Regions from separate parts of the Homo sapiens genome. Here region 2 is linked to region 1. The links are contacts of gene promoters, found by promoter capture Hi-C in blood cells and fetal thymus (Javierre and others, 2016). All regions are on one chromosome and are shown on one strand. The core of a region is centred on a gene start or on the middle of the fragment in contact, and the rest is flanking DNA. Distances in the headings are between cores, read along the strand shown.

Evidence for each region. The method cuts DNA at HindIII sites, captures the fragments that hold promoters and counts their contacts. A CHiCAGO score of 5 or more calls a contact.
Region 2: a fragment that was not itself captured here is called in contact with the fragment with the promoter of RNF145 in region 1 in 1 of 17 cell types (activated CD4 T cells); the score reaches 5.8 in activated CD4 T cells.

What each region holds. Positions count from the first base shown.
Region 1 is chr5:159,206,208-159,212,339 of GRCh38, reverse strand. It overlaps RNF145 (ring finger protein 145), which reads left to right and starts at 2,787. Exons shown (of 11, transcript NM_001199383.2): 1 at 2,787-3,109. LOC107986468 (a long non-coding RNA gene) reads right to left here and starts at 4,313. Exons shown (of 2, transcript XR_001742943.2): 1 at 3,660-4,313; 2 at 2,188-2,481. RefSeq lists enhancers at 2,315-2,414, 4,002-4,121, 4,232-4,281, 4,372-4,421, 4,021-4,676 and silencers at 2,585-2,874, 2,915-3,104. The HindIII fragment of the contact is 10,196 bases long and covers 1-6,132 here.
Region 2 is chr5:157,277,430-157,283,561 of GRCh38, reverse strand. All of the region lies in intron 1 of CYFIP2 (cytoplasmic FMR1 interacting protein 2), which reads right to left. Among named protein-coding and RNA genes, the nearest start is that of CYFIP2, 14 kb to the right of the region's middle. The HindIII fragment of the contact is 2,222 bases long and covers 2,027-4,248 here.

The sequences.
Region 1 (6,132 bases), core at 1,538-4,037:
ATATCATTTTCTCTAGATTTAGAAGGCAGTGCATAATAAAGTGGCCATCAGTTCCTGCGGATTTGCAACACAAGACTATTTCTATGTGACTATTAGCAATAGTTGGCTCTATCAGGAATTCAGGAACGAGTCTTTTGGAATGGCTAGAACTGGAACATATATGCACTCTTTCAAACTTTGTGCTGACTTCCTCCTCAATGTTGGATGCATTTAGACAGGAAGGAAGATAACCTTTCGAATCCTGAATGGTCTGCCATTGGGCAGTCATAAACATACCACTTCTTTCCTTCTAGCACCCTGGGTAAGTTCCTTTTATGACCAAGCTGTGGCATTTAGACATTTCCTTATGTTTCTTCCAGGTACTTAAGGACAAATTTAGCTCCTGGCTTTTCCTGATTTGGGTGGGTTTGGGTGCCTCTAGAAAGTACTTCCTCTACACTTGATTGAGCTCTTTTATTTGAGCTGCTCTCGATTCACCCGCCCCACCCCCACTTCTTTTTTCTTTTGCGTTGCTTTTTAGTTCTGTTTAATTACCTGCTTCTGGCAATGTGGAGCTTTCCCATAACTGGATTAGCAGCACTATAATAGCAGTAACCCTTTCATTACCAGAGTAATTTTCTTTACTTGTTTTGAACTTCAGCATTTACAGGCAGCTGCTATTAAGTTAAAAGGTAAAAAGACATGTGACTTTTTCCTGCTTTTACAAGTCCAGAATACTTCCAGTGAGGGTTACAGGGCTTTGAAGCCATTTTCTCCACTTTAAAAAAAGGAAAGGTAAGAGCTGAAGTAGGCCTCTCCTCCATTTAAAACACAAATCCAGTTAGAGACCAGCCTGACCAACATGAAGAAACCCCATCTCTACTAAAAATACAAAATTAGCCAGGTGTGGTGGTGCATGCCTGTAATCCCAGCTACTTGGGAGGCTGAGGCAGGAGAATTGCTCGAACCCAGGAGGCGGAGGTTGCGATGAGCCAAGATCACGCCACTGCACTCCAGCCTGGGCAACAAGAGTGGACTCCGTCTCAAAAAACAAACAAACAAACAAACAAAAACCACGCAAATCCAGCAACCATACTTCCTTTTAGAATCACATTTTCAGGATTCTGCCATTTATCCAAGAATAATAAATAAATAAAGTTAGAATTTAGTGTTACGTTCATTTTGACTTCTTTGTAATCTGTTTCTGGCCTTAGGTTTTCTTGACTCAGTCAGATGTAAAGTTGTTAAAACAGGGAGGGGATCAAGATAAGGCCTTGCTATCTTGGTCCATTTCCTATTCCAGTCATTATTCATGTGACCTCTGTAATTTTTTTACTTACCAGGCTAGATTAAGAGACTCATGAACTGCATCACTGGGATGTGACAGGATTTATGACTATGGTGAAGTAGTCTGAGGCACCTGGATGAAAGGTGGTTATAGTGAGTTATGTACACAATTCCCACACATTTTAAACACTTGATTCCTACAGAGCTATCAAACTAATGGAAGGCAAGTTACTCAGAGTTTGGTTGACTGATACCTCCAGGGATTGCATTTTCTAAATACAGAGCTTGCTTTCACAATTTCAGCAGGATACAAGAGTGTTCAGAATTGGGGGTTTACCATTCAAAGGGCAGAGGCCAGAGACTTGAATTTACAAGGAGGGTCCTCAACACAGACATCGAGATTACAGTACATTAATTTCTCTTGCACATGAAGAAGTTGAGGCTTCACAATTTCAGCATGACCCAGTATAGTTGCAACATCTTACCCATCACTGGGTGTGTATCTTCTGTGTACACTGGCCCTTTCAACATCTAAGGCCAGGCTAGGTGCTCATAGCAACTGGCTCCCCAGGAACTAACGAAAGAGAAAGCAAGAAACAGTGGAGGGGTTTTGGTGATGGTGGAAGGCAGGGGAGATAGAAGTGGGGGTTGCAGAAGGTCGTGGTGAGGCAGAGTGGCAGACAAATGGGGAATGAGAAGTCTTGCCAAGCCCAGAAGACTATCGTTGTGTAAACACACAATATGCTTCAGGCTATGTATTCTGGGCAACAGTTCCTGCCCTAAAAGGTGTGGACATTTAAATTAGGGTAGGATTGCGCATTCTGTGATAGAGACTGGCACAGAGACAAAGTGGAACTCCTCTACGTTGGGGAGGGGAAAACATACATTAGCCTGTTTTGAACCTTAGACCAAGACAAGACAAACACACAAACACCATTTAATTTCATACTGCAATAAAATTCTTTGTACCAAACCATGGGATCAAAATTGTTACAGATACTCAGTGAACAGTTCCAATGCATTCATTCATCCAGTCACTTACTCCACAGGGGTTTGAGTGCCTGCACTTGGTGCTGGGCACGGCTGAGCCATCCCAGACGCCAAGGAGTTTACAGTCTAGTCCAGTCAGTGACGAGGTTAAAACGAATTCTCGCATCATTGCTACTGCGAATGCACCGGGACAGGATCAGCCCTTCAAATTCTCCCACGTGGTCCCTGCAGGTGAGTGTGGGTGTGAGCGCTTGCGGCCCGTGGTGTTTGGGAGTGAGAGAGCACGTGTGTCAGAATGGCGCCTGTCACAGTGCGCGTCCAGGTGTCTCTGCAGTACGCCTCTCCATAGCCACCCGAGCCGGGCTGTATGGGCTTGGCTAGGCTTATGTCTCCCGCCCACGCACCGGAGGCGGTGCGGAAAGCACTCCGCGGGCGCGATTGTGAGTGAGCGCGGGCGCGCGCGGGAGGGGCGCGCCGCGCTGGCTGGGCCGCGCGCAGGCGCAGAGTGCGGAAGTCGGGCCGCGGCCGCCGCAGAGCGCCGGGGGCGGGAGGAGCAAACGCAGGAGGCCATGGCCGCCGACGCCGGCGCCGGCTGCTAAGGGGCTCGGCCCGCGAGCGCCTGCTGCCGCGGACGATGGTGACCGTACGGGCCGGGCCGCTGCCGCTGCCGCTGCCTCCGCCTCCCCAGAAGCAACATCCGAGGCTCGGCGCAGAAGAGCCGCCGCTGTGAGCCGTGCCGTACCGGCCCCCGCCGCCGCCCGAGGAGAACGGGAGGGCGGGCGAGAGAGCCGGGGAGTTGCGGAGCCCGCCCGCCGGCAGCGCCGCTCCCCAGGGAGGGAGTCCGCAGCCTGAGGTGACCACGCCGCCCGCCCGGCCCCTTCCCATCCCCGCGCCCCCCGGCCGCTTCCCACGGCCTCCCTCCCCTCCCCCATCGCGTCGCAGGCTCCTTCCTCTTCTCCCTGTTCGCCCCTTTCCTTTTATCTCGCTTCACCTCCCTCTTCTCCCTAGCATTGGAGGAGTCCACATCCCCTCTTCAGCCGCAGCACCCCTCCCTCCCATCCTCTAGCTCTTCCCGCGGTGGTCGCCTCCCTCCGACCCTGCTCTCCCCTCCTGGGCCCCGCGCAAAGCCCCCTCTGTTCCAGCTCCCGGGCCTCGGCTGCCTCCCCGCCCTCCCATCCCTTCCTCTTCCCAGGGCCTGGAGCGCTCCCTTACATTCCTGAGATGCCCTTCCTCGGGGCTGTCCCCCTTTGCCTCCCCAGCATCCCATTTCTAGGCCTTTTTCAAGACCCTTCCAGAGCGGCCCCTTTCCAGCTCCCTTTCTCGTTTCCATTTCCAACTTTGCCTCTTTTGCCTCTTTGTTCACTTTGCTTCCAAGCTCCCCTCCCTCTTTCCCTTCGTCTTACCCTGCTTTGATCTACGCAGCCCCAAACTCAAGCTCCCCGCTTTCAGGTGGTGCGAGGTTGTTTGGGGGTGCGGAAGGGCCTGCCAGTCCATTTTTCGAGGGGGGCCCATTGCTCTGCATCCCGTCCGTCAGTCCCTTTTATAGTAAGAGGGCTCCTCATCCCTTCCTTTTTGTCCCCGTGGTTTCCTCTGTCTTGCCATCCCTTCTGTCTTCTCCCTCCAATACTGCTTTCCCCACCCAAGGACCCTCAGACCCGTGAACCCCCTTTCTGGAATGAGTTCCCTTTCTGTTCGGGGATGCTGAACTTCGCCCGCGTTTTTCTTCGCGAGCCTTTTGGTACGTGGCGTGGCGCGACAGAGTCAGCACCCTTGGCGAGATAGGAGGGGAGCTCTCGAGCCTCTTTCCTGGAAGAGTTTTTGCTGAACGTAATCTCTTAGCCCCGCGGCGGCGGCGGCCCGGTTGCTGCTGCTACTGCTGCTGCGCTGCCTGCTTGCCGCGAGCTGGGTTGGGGTTACTGTAGTTCAAACGCATCTGAGATCTGCAGGCGTTGTGGGAGGAGGTGCGGGGAGAGAGGAAGGGGCCTGTGCAGTGAGCAGGCATCAAAGATTAGTGGATGGCCTTGCGTCGCAGTCTGCAGTAAAGAGGAAACTAGTCTGAAAGGGAAGGAGAGGACTGTGTGTCTTTTTATTTTTTAAAATACGGAGTGTGCAGTTTTACTGAATCTTGAATCATGCCCAAAAGAATGAGCTGTCGGTGCTGCAGTCGTGACCCAGGCTGAGCGGCCGATGGCAGAGGTAGCAGTTTTATTTCCTCTCTCTGTTCCTTAAGTTGAAAGATGGCCTTTGTATTCAGAGTAGACTCCCTGTCTTTGCGGTTTGGGAGATGATGAGAAACCACAGAATTGCTAGTAGTTTATGTGGAGATCAGGTACATACAAAGTTAGCTAGCAAGGAGTGGGAGTGGGGAGGACCAGCTATATTTAAAACATGTGCCATTGCTTATGTAAGAAATGCGTTCTCTTTCCTGGTATCTCAGTTCTGGGCTTTTACTTAGAATTTTAGGCTCTAGCTTTGTGCTCTTAACATTTTCAGTGAGGCCTACCATCCTAACCGATGGACAGCCCGAAAATTTACTTTTCTTAAGATCAGTTTTAGTTGATGGTAGAATTTTTTTTTTTAACTGGTTGGGAGAAAGAAAGGAGATAATGGTGAATGATGATTTTTGTTTTTCTTTTTTAGGGGGAAGGTGTAGAAGTATTGTACTGAATAGTTTTAAGTTGGGTCACGTGTCATTCTTGTTTTTTCTTTGTCTTTTTAAAAAAAAGTTTAGGAGGTGTATTTTTGAAGAACTCAAATAAGAGAAATAAAAAATCACATTTTTCATTTCTCTTATTTGACATAGTTCTTCAGAGATTAGCTGTGACTGTAAAAACCTACATTTTTCTTATTCAGGACGATTTGTTTGGTTTCTTCATATTCAAAACTAAAATCCCGTATTTTCAGGAAAGTGTAGAATGAAGCCCCCTGTGTTTTCTAACCCACAAATTTGAATGGTAAACTGTACAGCATTATACTTCTACAAGACATTACTGTTTTCATAATTACGGATTGCTGCTTCTAAGCCTGAGAAGGTCATTTAATGAACTCATTGAGGTCTCCTTTTTGGTTAGCATTTGTTGCACCTCTTGTGGTTTTTGGAAAGAAATGCCTTTTTTTTTTTTGGTTTGTTTTTAGCTGTTTTACTGTGTAAAACATCTTTGAGTCACATTTAGTTTATGTTACCTGCAGACACATCATGTTGGATATTACTTTCCCAGTTCTTTTCAAAGTTCAAGGAGGACATTTTAAAATCTTGCATGGAAGATAAAACAGTATAGGAAGTTTATGTATTTGGCTTTGGGTGTGTTAAACCTTTCGGTTTTTTCTGCTTTCAGCTCTCCTGCTTATTTTCTAGGATTATTTGGTATTATTTTGTTTTCAAGAGAATATTGAGCTCCCCTGTACTTTAGGATATGCTGATTAGCCCTGTTTGACAATAAATCTGGAACAGGATAAATTAGGCAACATTATAAAGGTATTCTCTAGATCAGGAGAGAAGGCTCCATTTTACTTCGTGTTTGTATGATATAGTGATTTGGCAGGTGTGAGTAATTGCAAGTACTTGCAAAGAAGATGAATATTTTAAAGTTTTGTTTTGATGTTGGTTTAGTGTGTGGTGCTAAAGTGTAGTGTAAAGTACCTATTTGTATTGATAACTATCATGTGCTCTTTTACTTTAGAAGGGTTCAAAGTGATAAGGTTTTGAAATTTTTTTCTCTTTGATTTTCCATGTATTAAATTTGTTTCGTCAGTGCCTTTATACATGACCAGCTTGCCACTGACTTGCTAAAATAACATTCACGTATAGAAATAAATGCAACATTTAGTTTCGTTTATTTGGGCGTATTTAATTCTATCCAAAGTCCTTGTTAAAAA
Region 2 (6,132 bases), core at 1,888-4,387, 1.9 Mb after region 1:
ATGGTGGTTTCAGGTCCTCTCCACACCTAAGCTTCTTCCTCTTCTCTCCCCCACAATTCTAAGTGTGGCATTCAGTTCTACAGCAAAACCACTTCACTGATCCATTGAAAGAAAAGAAAAAAAAAAGACTGTCTTCCTTCTTACACTACTACTAGGTCCATTTTACAGGAGGGAGTAATGATTTTACTGGGCATAATGATCTTCAACCTCCAAAGCCCTAGTAATTCTCTTCATTAATTCCAATTATAATAATAGTGAAACATTTCTTTAGCCCTTACTCTGTGTCAGACACTATGCGAAGTACTTGACTATTTCAATCTTGCATCCACCCTATAAAGGTAGGTACTATGATTATTCCCAGTCTATAGATGAACAAACAGAACCTCGGCATTTAATTTCATAGGATCAAGTGCTGGCAAGTGGTGGAGGGAGGTCTGACCCAGGTTTGTCCAGCTCCATAGTCTGAAGTCAGCTTCCTTACTACATACTTCCTTCCAAGGGCTCATGCTCACATTTTGAGATTACACTCGATAAGTGGAGGTTTATTTCATACCAACCTCTACGCTAGGTGTTTTCAAACACTCTGTGTTAATGGTTCTTGGCCCTGCTTGTGCCAAAAAATCATGTGCACAGCTTCTTAATAACACAATGCCTGGGTTCCAACCAGGGGACCAGGAAGACTGCATTTGAAAGGTGTCCTATCTCATTTTCAATAAGGAAAATCCAGATGAAACTTACAAGGAGATACACCATTTCTCACTGATTAGATCGACTCAAATCCAAAAGTTTGACTACACATGCTGTTGGCAAGACTATGGAGAAACAGGATCTACCAAACATTGTTAGTAGGGATGGCAAAATGACACAACTCCCGTAGGAGGAAATCTGGCAATATCTAACAAACTTCCATAAGCATTTTACCATTTGACCAGCAATCCCACTTCTAGGAATCTGTCCCAAAGATGCATTGACAAAAATACACAAAGATATATGCACAAGGCCATTCACAGCAGGACTACTTGTGATAGCAAAAACTGAAAACAGCAAACATCCATTGACATAGTTAGGATACTTGCCCTCACCCAAATCTCATGTTGAATTCTAATCCCCAGTGTTGGAGGTGGGGCCTGGTGGGAGGTGTTTGGATCATGTGGGCAGGTCCCTCATGAATGGCTTGGGCCATCCCCTTGGTGATGAGTGAGTTCTGAGTTCACAGGAGATCTGGTCATTTTAAAAGTGTGTGGCACCTCCCTCCCCCACACTGCCCACTCTCTTGCTCCTGCTTCCACCATATGGTATAACTGTTACCCCTCTGCCTTCTGCCATGATTGAAAGCTTTCTGTGGCCTCCCCAGAAGCTGAGCAGATGCTGGCACCATGCTTCCTGTACAGCCTGTGGAACCTTGAGGTCAATTAAACCTCTTTTCTTTATAAATTACCCAGTCTCAGATATTTCTTTATAGCAGTGCAAGAATGGCCTAATACATCCATTAACAGAGGACTGTCTGGATAAACTATGGTGCCACTGTACAGGGAAATATGAAGCAGCAGGAAAATGGAGTGAGGACCCTCTCTACATGCAACTACGGGTGATCTCCAGGACATGGTATGGAGAGCATGCACTCATTTACCCAGGAGAGGGGGCTGCAGATGTCTACACACACATCTTCTACTTAAAAAACAAACAATGGAAAGGCAAGCCATATGCTTTTAAAAATTAGTTACCTATGGAAAACAGGAAAAGAAGGGAAAACAGTTAAGAGATAGGGGCTAGAATCCTTTGAATATGCCTTATTTTGTAGATTTGACTTTGAAAACGTCAAAACATTTTACATACTTATAAAATAAAATTTAAATTTATAAAAAGTGGCCCCCAAATCGAAAAGTAAAATGAAACAAATGAATGTATATATATGTTGTACTATTGGAGTAACTCCACAGAAAGGGACTATTATTCCAAGTGATTTTAAAATCGAGTGATGTGCTGGAAGAGCCCTGATGGATCACAAAGACATCTAATAAAAGCTTGGTTTTTATTACTTTGTTACTGTTAGATGAGCCTGTGAACCAACCTTTATGTTGAGAATTGGTAAATAAAAGCAAACATTTAACCTGTCTTTCTTAAACTATACCACTAGATAACCGAACTATAGAAGAGATGGATGTTTCTTTCCATAAAAGTATTTTTTTCCTTTTTAACAGAAAAATGATAATATCCTTGTTTTCCAACCTCTACAAACAAATGGATCTAGGCACGGATCATCATCAGCTGTTAACATCCCTAAATGAAAGACAATCAGATATTATGTGCTTAATGATGGAAAAACGCACCAAGAATGCTGGATCCAAAACAAAACACCTGAATCTAATTAAGCCTTTGACGCCAACTCACAGGAAATATAAGAGGGCAGAAAAACATGCTACACCCCAGTGATGTAATCAGCAAAATGCAATCTATGACAAATTCTGCTGGACAAATGACTCAGGACCTCTAACAAATAAATTGCAAAGATAGAAAAGAGAGATGGGAGGAAAGTCTATAGATTTTGAAGAGACTGAACACACTATCATGTGTGGACCTTATTTGGATCCTATTTCAAACAAACCACCATACAAATAAAATTATAACTTTATGAGAAAATTAGAAAATTAGTACTGACTGGATATTTGATAATATGAAGGAAATATTGTATTTAGGTTTGATAATATCAAGGTTATGTTTTAAAAGAACCTATATCTTCCAGAAAGATCTACTAAAATATAGATAAAAGGACACAGGGTTTTGCTTCTAAATAATACTAGATGGGGGAAGAGTGAATAGAAATGAAACAAATTCGCAGTGAGTTAGTAACTATAGATTGTGTGTGACACATACATAGAAATTACTGTATTTTTCCATCCAATTTTATATATGTTTCAAATTTTTCATAAAATCCCCTAGATCAGTTTATAAGCTCCCAGCTCTTATCCAACTTCCCTTTTTTTCTCCTGTAACTAGGTTTCTTCTGGGCTACTCAAACTTAAAAAATACTCATTTACAGACGGGTGTGGTGGCTCACGCCTGTAATCCCAGCACTTTGGGAGGCTGAGACGGGTGGATCACCTGAGGTCAGGAGTTCGAGACCAGCCTGACCAGCCTGGTCAATTTTTCTTTAGTAGAAATCCCATTTCTACTAAAAATACAAAAAAAAAAAAAAAATTAGCCAGGCGTGGTGGTGGGTGCCTGTAATCCCAGCTACTCAGGAGACTGAGGCAGGAAAATCACTTGAACCCAGGAGGCAGAGGTTGCAGTGAGCCAAGATCATGCCATTGCACTCCAGCCTGGGCAACAAGGGCAAAACTTCATCACACACACACACACAAAAATACTCATTTACCAGAATAACCATTAAGTTCTCCTCTGTAGCATAATAGTACCCCTGAACATCCCTTGAAGAGAATCAATAAGTAAGTGAACAACCTACAAAGCAAATAAATTAGGAGTCTGTTTATGTTAATGCTATCTTTCTTCTCCCCTGGCAAATACAACTTCTGTAGTGGATTTCTATGAGCATTGGTAGATCATTCAGTGCCTAAGGGAGAAGGAAATCCGACATTTTTAGCTCAAGTGCTGGTAGGCACTGCCAAATCCACATCAATCAGAAAGGAAAAATATTCTGGAAATTTGAACAGAGGTATAAATGAAAATAAGAACGTACTTCTTTCCTGCCCAAGTGTCCTGCCTGTTACGCAATCTTCCAAGTGAGAATGATTCTTTATATTCGGTCTACGAACATGTGACCATTTCATCATTTTGAAAAAGAAATTAATAAAATATTTAAAAGTTAACAGTGTTCTGGGAGCATCATTTACCAAACACAGCTGCAAATTCTCAGTGGCGGGCATTCATGATGGGTTTAAATGCAGTGTCTTCATAACAAACTCAGTCGGTGGCCTGGTTTCACCAAAAGTAATAATAACATTGGGCACACAAGCAATTTGCTTCTGAGAAGGGGGGGCTTTAGGTGCCCCCCCAGGCAGACATGACTGACAGACCCCAAGCAAGAGGGGGGTGGGTCCCATAAATGCAGGGCGACTGCCAGGAGAACATGGCTTTGGAAATGCAGGTTCTGACATTTACAGCTTAAACCCTGTTTCTCTGTAAGCAAAATACTTGCATTGTCATTATCTGTTTGATTTTTCTGGAAAGAAATGAAATATTAAGACTTTTTACTGAAGTGAAATATTAGGCTAGTGTAGTGGGTAAGCTTGAGTTCTGGGTTTCAATCTGTCATCTGCCACTTATGAGCTATATAAACAATAGCATGTTCCTTAACCTCTCCGAGCCTCAGTTTCCTTACCTTGTAAGGGTGACAATTTACAATAGTGCCTGTCCTCAATGTTTATTTTGATTATATAACTACAGCATGTAGAATACTTAACACAGTAGCCAGCAAAGACATGTCAAAAGACAAAATTACAATAAATTTATAGAATTAATTGTCCTTAATTTGTGATTTATGAATTGAAGCACCTCCTTTCTATACAATAGAATGAAAGCTCCCACTGGGCAATAGCAAAACTGTGGGTTTTGTAAGGTGGGAATAAGAAAACACAACAATAGAAAAATAAATGATTAGTTAACATCAAGTTACTTCAGGTTACTTTTTTGTAAGGATTAAGGCAGAGAGGATTTGCTTATTATGCTGACTCAGGTAGAGAGTGGCATTTAGCATGAGTGACTCCATTTTGATTTGGTCTGGTTTTTAGGGGCCTAGTACAGGAGCTTAGTCTTAAACAATGGCCTCCCATACTTTCGTTTAACATTCGCTAGTCTGTGGCCTGTTTTCAATAGAGAGGATGAATTAAATACTCCAACAATTCTCCTACCAAAAAAAGGAAGGTTTATTATTATTACACTAATATCTCAGTTCTATAGATCTTTCACATTGATTTTCTCAATCACAACTATCCTGCAAATTCAATTCAGCAGGTATAATTTTTGCTGTGTTTCTGAGGACACTGTGTTATGGAGAAGTAAACACTTTTATTCAAGGTCACATGGTCAGCTAGTGGCAGAGGTAGGGTAGAAACAGGATACCTTGACTCCCAATTCTATGCCTTTTCTTCTAGACCACACCTGGTTTTGTACCTTTTTGAAAGGTGCCAAACATATTTTTTTCCCAGTTTGGCTGCTTTTTCCTTCCTCAAGAAGAACACAACTCTGGCAAGCTAGAAAGATTAGGTAATTGTCACCTTTGTGTTTCATGAACATCAAGAGGCCAGGAAATATTTTCCATGTCCGTATGGCGCTCCAGCCAGAGGCTATATAAGTATACGTACACACACACAAACATACTGCACACACATATACATATATATACACATATGTATACATATATTACTACAAAGAAAATATTATATAGATATATAAATATAAAAATAAATAAAAGGGAGATTTAGGTTGTTCCTATTAAAAAAATTTACAGTCATTTGCCTCATAATGATGCTTCAGTCAACAGTGGATCATATATATGATGGTGTTCCCATAAGATTATAATATCATATTTTTACTGTACCTTTTCTATGTTTAGATACACAAATACTTCCCACTGTGTTGCAATTGCCTACAGTATTCAGTACAAGAACATGCCGTACAGGTTTGCAGCCCAGGAGCAATAGGCTATATACCATATAGCCTAGGTGTGTAGTAGGCTATGCCATCCAGGTTTGTGTAAATGCACTCTATGATGTTTTCTTGGCCCCAGAATAAAACCCAAATACTGCTACTTCTTCCTCCCATGCCAGGACAGACATTGCTAATTGGTAATGACTCTATTTTCCACTAAGTCCACAGACAGCTTCAGAATCCTCATGAAATACTGAGCTCCAGGAAGCCACCAGCAATCAATCTGAGTTTGCCCATGAAATAAAACATAACATGCCCTCTCTGGAGTAGAACCATGCATGTGAAAGCTCCTCAAGGTCAGGGACCATTTTCTTACCTATCACTGAAAATGCAGAGACCTTAGCAGAGTGCTGCAAACAGATTAGGCACTGGGGAAGTACTGAATGAAAGAATTCATGAACACACCTCAATCTCCTGACAACATAGGAGAGAGGAGACGACCTGAAGTTGGCCATGTCCTTACTT